Regions from separate parts of the Homo sapiens genome. Here region 1 is linked to region 2. The links are contacts of gene promoters, found by promoter capture Hi-C in blood cells and fetal thymus (Javierre and others, 2016). All regions are on one chromosome and are shown on one strand. Each heading gives the region's core, a stretch centred on a gene start or on the middle of the fragment in contact. The rest is flanking DNA. Distances are from core to core; before and after follow the strand shown.

Evidence for each region. Contacts are between HindIII fragments. The CHiCAGO score rates a contact against its expected background, and 5 or more counts as called.
Region 1: a contact is called between a fragment that was not itself captured here and the fragment with the promoter of WDHD1 in region 2, in 1 of 17 cell types (total CD8 T cells). The highest score is 5.7, in total CD8 T cells.

What each region holds. Positions count from the first base shown.
Region 1 is chr14:55,582,917-55,587,170 of GRCh38, forward strand. The region is part of intron 1 of KTN1 (kinectin 1); the gene reads left to right. Among named protein-coding and RNA genes, the nearest start is that of KTN1, 4.8 kb to the left of the region's middle. The HindIII fragment of the contact is 4,433 bases long and covers 382-4,254 here.
Region 2 is chr14:55,024,294-55,028,600 of GRCh38, forward strand. It overlaps WDHD1 (WD repeat and HMG-box DNA binding protein 1), which reads right to left and starts at 2,806. Exons shown (of 26, transcript NM_007086.4): 1 at 2,735-2,806; 2 at 2,418-2,510. The coding sequence starts at 2,494. SOCS4 (suppressor of cytokine signaling 4) reads left to right here and starts at 2,943. Exons shown (of 3, transcript NM_199421.2): 1 at 2,943-3,178. RefSeq lists enhancers at 2,628-3,155, 3,156-3,682 and a silencer at 2,784-2,833. The HindIII fragment of the contact is 4,247 bases long and covers 232-4,307 here.

The DNA.
Region 1 (4,254 bases), core at 1,348-3,847, 560 kb after region 2:
TAACTATTTCTCTAGAAGTGACATTGGTGATCACTCATGCTCAAAGAGAATTGCATTTCATTGCTTCCTCTTTCAGTTCCTGTGAACATGACTTTGTCCCAATCAAAAAATGTAATTTATTTTCAAATCACTGGGAAAATATTGGTCTAGATGAGAATATAAGCCTTTTTCCCTCCTCTATAAATAGAAAATTAAACATTAAGGGGAAGAACCTTATGTGCTGTGAACTAAGGGGTTTAATTTAACCTTCTGTATCTGAGGTCTAGAGAAAGAGAAATAATGACAGTTTACAACTGTGTGCCGAGCTGTTGTGCTTAAATGTGTTTTTGACAGAGGTGGCAGTGAAAACTAGGCTATTTTTCTTTTTTAAAAAATGGTACAAGCTTTTAATTGGTTTTATGTAAAAGAAAATAGGCAAGATATACTTTTAATTCTAACAATAGTTTTAGTAGATACTCTGATAGGAAATATAATATTCCTCGGAAATGTAGAAGACATACCCTAAAAAAAGTTATGATTTAGTATTTTACGAATCGTCCTAGCTACTACAGGGAGATTAAGAACTCTTCCGTAACTTAAATCTGGTTTCAGCAAAGTGATTTGTACACTAAATGTAATTTGTTTGCACTCTTCTTCCAGGACATTCTGCTTTTTGGGCTTTCTCCTTCCTAATTGCTTTGTTCATTCTATCTTACATCTTCTACTCTTAAACTTGACATGCTCAGTCCTTGTTTCACTTTTCTTTTTATATTCCTCTGACAATCTTATCCAGTGTCATGGTTTTAAATACCTATATGCTGATGGCTCCCATATTTATATCTCCAACCCAGACTTTCCACATGTGCTGTTAGGCCTATCCACTTGGATGTGCAGTAGTCAACTCCAACTAAATTTCCGTATTTTTCCTCAAACATGTTTGATGTTTGATGTTTCCATCAAACATTCAGGTAAAAAAACGTTGGAGTCATCCCTGACTTATTTCTTTCACACTTGGCATTCTGTGCTCTGTCTTATCTTGAAAATATAACCAGAATCCAATCAGTACTTACTGCTTCCACTGCTCACCAGCCTGGTGCAAGCCATTCTTATCTCTTACCTAGATTTCTGCAATTAGCCTCCTAACTGATCTCCCTGCCTCTGCCCTAACTCCCTGCAGTCTTTCCAACACAACAACTGGATCATATTACTTATCTTCTCAGAATGCTACAGTGACTTTCTCTATGCACAGTGAAAGCTGAAGTTCTTATGTCCTTAAGGCCATGCAGAATCTGGACACTTCCACTCTCCTCATTCCCCCTTACCTCTAAGGTTAGCTACTATCATCCCTCTGCTTACTTCTCTCTGGCTCCAATGGTTTTCCTAAGGGCAGCTACATATCAGACACTGCCCTAAACGCTTAGGCTCCATCAATAAACAAAACAGACGAAAAGCTCTGCCCTGATAGAAGTTGTGTAATAGTGTATGTTTGAGGGCAAGGGGAAGAGATAATAAACACAATCAATGAGGAAATTATATACTGTTTACTTCTCCTGGCAAGAAGGTGACAAGTGCCATGGAGGAAACAGAGCTGTTTTTTACACTGGCTGTTACCCTGTAGATACATGCATGGCTTGTTGTCTCCGTCCAGTCTTTGCTTTTTAAATGTCAGTTTCTTAAAAAGATGTGCCTATTTTATTTAAAACTGCACTCCCCTACGTCTGATTCTTGTACCTTGCTCCGTTTTCTTTATAGCATTTGTCACCTTCTGTCATACTATATAATTTCCTGGTTGTGTTTATTGTCTCTTCCACATAACCCTCAAACACAGTATTACATAGCTTCTATGAGGGTAGGCTTTTTGTCTGTTTTATTGATGACTCTTTAAGAGTTCAGAGCAGTGTCTAGCACATAGCAGGTCCTCAATAAGAATTTGTTGAACACAATAATTAAATCCTGGCTGGGTGTGATGACCCACATCTGTAATGCCAGCACTTTGGGAGGCCAAGGTGTGTGGATTGCTTGAGCCCAGCAGTTTGGGACCAGCCTGGGCAACGTGGCAAAACCCCATCTTTAAAAAGAATATAAAAATAGCCAGGCATGGTAGCGTGTGCCTGTGGTCCCGGCTTCTTGGGAGGCTGAGGTGGGAGGATTGCTTGAGCCAGGGAGGTGGAGGTTGCAGTGAGCTGAGATGGTGCGACTGCACTCCAGCCTGGGTGACAGAGTGAGACTGTGTCTCAAAAAAAAAAAAAAAAAAAAAAAAATCTCACATTCCTTCCTTTGATGGATAACTCATTATTGGATACATGTAGTTTTCAGTTTGCTCCTTTCCTCTTTCAGGGATGGTCAGAGAGTGGAAGAAAGTGGCATGGAGCCTTTGGGAGCTGCTTGGTGGAAGGAATGATGTTAGAGTGTGGTGGAGACCCTCTTACATACTCCACATGATTAGGACCATTTGTTAGTTAATTCAAAAAGTTGGTTAAAGCAAGGAATCAAAATATATGTGCACCTTAAATGTTTTCACTTAAAATATTTGATTTTACTTTTATTTGCCTTTTTATTTTTACTGATTTCTTTTCTTAAAATAAAGGTTATCCTGATTTTCCTTTCATAGATTGTACTCTAAAAGCATTATCTATGATTTCTAGTATTGGTTTCTTTAAAGTGGAATGAAAAGATAGGCACTGGGAAACTCTCCAAGTACAAAATCTTTATAGATTTTTCCAGTTATTCATCAAGGCCTTCCAAAGGATTTAATGTCATTTTTATAGAAATAACACCTTTTGACTCTATTTTCATGTTTGATAGATATATAGAAATAAGTGAGTAGGAGAGTAATTGCTAGCCAGAAACAGCTTTCTGAAGACACCAGCCCATGTATTTTTACAAAGGAGGAGAATGTCAGTTAATCCAGTGAGAGATCCTGTAAGACAGCTTCCACTTTGAATAGGTTCCATAGGGGCCGTAGGATCATAGCAGCCTATAATTACTAGAAGAGAATGTTATTTACCCTTATTTCTTTATTTTGACTCTGAGTAACATCTACAATTAGTTTTCAGAACTTATGTGAATTCAAGTAAGTGTACATTGTCTATCAGGAGACATGATGTTACACTGCATTTTCGCTGGAAAATGTGGGACAATTATTATTCTTATGCATGAGTCATTGAGTTGTTAAGGAAACAATCTGGTCTGGTATAATAAGCTGGAAGTCACTAGTTAGGAGACCTACAGGTCTTAGACCTTATTAACTCTAAGGTTTTATGCAAGTTCTTTATTGTCCAGTTCTTTAATTACATAATGTTCTGTGGGGTAGTGGAAACAGCTTGGGCACTAGGGAGCCTGAAGACCTTGGGCTTGAATTTAGTTTTGCTAGTCAGTACCACTTACTGCATGTGTGATCTTAACCTATATTAACCTGCCTAAGGCTCATTAAGGAATTATCTTACCTCAGTAGTTGCCTCATAAGTGATAGCTAACATTGGAGTACATATTTGCTGTCAAACTCTAAATGCTTTAGGTGCATTATCATATCATATCATATTTAATCTTCTCAACAACCTTATGAGGTAGGTACTATTTGGTGAAAACTAGGGAGACAAATAATTTGTTCAAAGACACAAATATCTTTAGGAGGAGCCTGAATTTTAACTGAGGCATTCTGACTTAGAGCCCATTCTTACCCGTTGAGCTGTTTTATAAGAATGCTTTCTGAAGAAAACAAAACGCTGTCCATGTGCAGCTGTCTAATGTTAGGCATTACAAAGCTAAATTAAGGTTATAAGGATCCCCCTCCCCCCCATAGGAATTAGAAGATTAATTCTTAAAACTAGTGATTTAAATTTAAAGACTTGAAGTTTTTCAAGTGGAGAAAACAGTAAAAGCTACTTAAACCACATGCTATAAAATGTTTTAGTTATATGGAAAGCAGTAGATAGAATGTCGTCCTTTTGTTTCCAAGAAACTTTTCTGTTTCATTTCCTGCATATGTTCATTATAAGTTACTCTTGTGTGATCTTATAGACATTTCTTAATGGTTACCTCGAAAACGCCAACTCTGACCCTACCTAAAAATGCATACCCTCCCTATTCTTTGTCACAGCCTTATTTTTATTCATTGCATTATCAGTCACAACCTGATGTTATAATACGCTTATTTCTTTCTTGGTATCTGCCTCACCTACAAGAATATAAATAATGTGAGGCAGGGACTGTCTTGTTCATCGCTGTGAACTATATGTCTGACACCTAGCTAGTGCTCAATTTGAATGAATGGAT
Region 2 (4,307 bases), core at 1,556-4,055:
AAACTCAATCTCCACCCACAGCTCTACCTCTGAAATACGCCCTTCTTCAAGTGTTCCTGTTATTTGCAAGTGGAAGCATCACTTTCTCAACCGTAACATTCAGAAATGTAGACGTTATCCCTGTTGCCTCTTTCTCCATCCTTAATATCTGATCCATCCTGTTGACTTTATCTTTTTAAATATTTCCTGAATGTTTACTCTTTTCTACACACCCATGTTTACTCTAGTCCAAGCTTCTATCACACTTACCCAAACTTGTGGGGAAAAGCAAGAGAGATCAGATTGTTACTGTGTCTGTGTAGAAAGAAGTAGACATAAGAGACTCCATTTTGTTATGTACTAAGAAAAATTCTTCTGCCTTGAGATTCTGTTAATCTATAACCTTACCCCCAACCCCGTGCTCTCTGAAACGTGTGCTGTGTCAACTCAGAGTTAAATGGATTAAGGGCGGTGCAAGATGTGCTTTGTTAAACAGATGCTTGAAGGCAGCATGCTCCTTAAGAGTCATCACCACTCCCTAATCTCAAGTACCCAGGGACACAAAAACTGCGGAAGGCCGCAGGGACCTCTGCCTAGGAAAGCCAGGTATTGTCCAAGGTTTCTCCCCATGTGATAGTCTGAAATATGGCCTCGTGGGAAGGGAAAGACCTGACCGTCCCGTAAAGGGTCTGTGCTGAGGAGGATTAGTAAAAGAGGAAGGAATGCCTCTTGCAGTTGAGACAAGAGGAAGGCATCTGTCTCCTGCCTGTCCCTGGGCAATGGAATGTCTCGGTATAAAACCCGATTGTATGCTCCATCTACTGAGATAGGGAAAAACCGCCTTAGGGCTGGAGGTGGGACCTGCGGGCAGCAATACTGCTTTGTAAAGCATTGAGATGTTTATGTGTATGCATATCTAAAAGCACAGCGCTTAATCCTTTACATTGTCTATGATGCAAAGACCTTTGTTCACGTGTTTGTCTGCTGACCCTCTCCCCACAATTGTCTTGTGACCCTGACACATCCCCCTCTTCGAGAAACACCCACAAATGATGAATAAATACTAAGGGAACTCAGAGGCTGGCGGGATCCTCCATATGCTGAACGCTGGTTCCCCGGGTCCCCTTATTTCTTTCTCTATACTTAGTCTCTGTGTCTTTTTCTTTCCTAAGTCTCTCGTTCCACCTTACGAGAAACACCCACAAGTGTGGAGGGGCAACCCGCCCCTACACAAACTAATACAGGTATCTTCTAACAGTCTTTCTGCATCCATGAGTGCTCCTTTTCCAATTCATCCTCCATGCATTTTCTCAAAAACAAACCTGATCACATCTCTCTGCTTCAAGCCTTTAATACCTTCTCAGTGCTTTTAGGATAAAACGAGATTCCTTAATAAAGTCCAGAAGGTCTTGGATAGGACATCCATTGCCTAACTTCACAGATTCATCTCTCACTAAACTCTGCATCACTCTCCACATTTTAGTAAGGCTAGTTTTCCTTCAGTTCTTTGAGCATACCATGATCCCTGGCCCCATTGGGCCTTTACACACAGTATTGCCTCTGCTTACTATGCCAACATCACCACCCCACCGCCACCACCACTCATCTCTTTATACTGCTTAATGCCTGCTCCGTCTTCAGATGGCGTCTCAAGAAACACTTGTCCAAAGAAGCCTTCCCTGACTCCTTTAACTAGATGAGCTTCTCCTCATACATGTTTATCACTGCACATATTACTTGTTTCTAAATACACATTTATTTTTGTGATTAATTTGTGTTCAATGCCTGTCAATCCAAAAAGACCTTAAGCTCAAAGGAGGAAAAGACTGTGTCTGGTTCGCTCTATTCTATCTGTAGTCCCCAGCAAAAGAGACACACAAGTATTTTTTCAATGAATCAATCAACATAGAAGCGACAGTGGAAGCCGTGCAATCGAGCAGTAGTGCGTAAGAATGGGACTTGGAAAGATAAAAGGGACCAGAATAACCGTAGGAAAATATTATAGTTTAGGAATCAGAGGAAAAAATTGTTTTAAGCCGTCAAAAAGTTAAAAAAAAATAAGCAAAAAGGGAAATAGCATCACTAAAGGCATGGAAGGATATCATTCCAAACAGAACAGGCCACTGAATTTGACAAGTAGGCAGTAACTAGTGATCTGACAAAATTAATAATGTAAGATGCAGGGAAGGGGAAAATATATGGAGAGAAGCTCGCATCTTTCCAACTCCTCTGGAAGTACGATTATAACTTTGTCGATATACTACAACTACCATGACGGCCCGAATCAAACAATAATCTAAAGAAATATGTGTGCCATTTTAGATTTCAACATTATTCCTCTATCCGCATGAGTCATTTTTAGCTGACTGCACATATAAAGTTTAAGGATAAATGTTTTAACATTTGCACCTAAAACGTTGTTTCTCAAAGAACCTTACCTCCCAGAATCATCAAAACAGACCTCCGTGTGTCCCTCTGTATGCCCATATCTCATTGGCTTCCGTGTGGCAGGCATGTTTTCCTTTACCTATCTGAAAATGTTTTATAAAAGCCAGTCTTATTATTTCAAAAGAGAAAAGCAGCGAGGCTAGGGATAGGAAGAGAGCTTAGTCTCCTCTAGGGCCCGTTCTCCGCAGCCCGGTTTCCCCCACCCGAGTGACACCAGCGGGATAAGGCAGAGGGTCTGTCAGACAATAAGCCGGAAAGGGAACACGCATCTCCTTGGTGGACGCGGGCAGCCGGAGTGGGGACTCACCCGGGTGACCGAGCCTCCGCCACTGAGGATCCACAAGAGCTGCTTCCCGCGCTTCGGCTCGCTCACCACACTGCGCCTGCGCCGACCCGCCCACGCCCAGCGCAGGTCCCGACAGAGGTCGCCGGGTGGTGGCGTCAGCTGCGGCGCCCTCCGCGTGGAAATTAGCCGGTTGCCCGGGCAAATCAGGGAGGAAGGGAGGGAGCTGAACACGGAAGTGGTGGCGGCGCCCAGGGAACCGGCGGAGGCGATGACCGTGACGGCTGGGTTGGGACCGGAACGCCGAAGCGGGGTTGGGGGTGGCAGAAAAGCATCTGCTTTGTAAGACCTACACGAGGTGCAGGAGTGGTTGGGCCTCCCCTCTCCACTTAAGCAAGCGCCCAGACTGATGGCGATGGTGATGGCAGCAGTTACTCGCACAACCCCAGTTAAGCTGCGCTCCGGGAGGTGAGTGGGGGAAGGGTGGCCGCTGCCTGGCCTCGCAGGCCGGGGTCTTGTTCCTGCCCTCCAGGCTCTCCTCCCAGGAAACAATATCCGGATCCCTAAAAGGATCCGGTCTCTTTCTTGGGGCCCAGTTAGCAGACAGATCTTTGAGCATCTTCTCTGGAAAAGAAGGCGAGATCTTCTAGAGCCTCTAATCTTGGCATCCTTCGTGCCCTCACCTTGTCGCTTCTGTAGAGATAAAGAAGGAATGACTTAATTTCTGTTCCGGTTGGTTCTCTTGGTACCTGAAGGTATAATTAATTAATGCTCAATTAATGCTTATTCTTTGCGACTCTATATATCCGTTATGAAGAAAGTAACTTGTGTTCTCTATTCAGATCCCACCTAAAGTTTACTGAAGTGAATATTTATAACCAAAAGAAGAGTTATAACTTAGTAGCCTTGAGCACTTACATTTGATCCATGCAATATCTGCTAAAGTCTTGGCCACTAAGTTTAAGTTTATGCTTTTCTTGTATCTTCATTCTCCATATTGGTACAGCAGCCTGTGATGAAAACCTTCAGAATGATATTCTTTCATTTGTACTTATCTTTGAGAATTTTTCTGCGTTTTTGTGATACCTTCCAGTATCAATCACATTTATTTTATTACCTGAGACGTTTTTCTGTTGAAGAGGTTTCCCTATTGTTTTTTTCAATCTAGTTCCATTGTGAAAAGTTGCAAACACACAGGCAAACCGTCGTGTTCTTACCGTGGGTGGCATTGTGTGAGGCGTTGTTTTTAGTACTAGAGCTCCAGATAGCCTTGCTAGACGCTGAGGTTTGTATATGAATGAAGAGGAAGAATGATTGGCTTAAAAACAACTTGGGATTTGTGGAAAAATAACCCACTGTTGATCTCCCGAAAGAGCAGTGGTACCAGAGATGATGCTTTCTGAGTGACCTAATTTTTTTTTTTTGGAGATCATTTGTTTTTTGGATAGACTGGCTTATAAATTTTTTCGTTCAAGTAACAATATCATTGGCTAGAGTACATAGAGTTCAAGATGAACTCTCATAATATTCGTCTCTATGTTGAATAAAGCGTGGTGAGATTTCTGGTTAGTACTATTCAGAGCTCAGCATAAGAAGA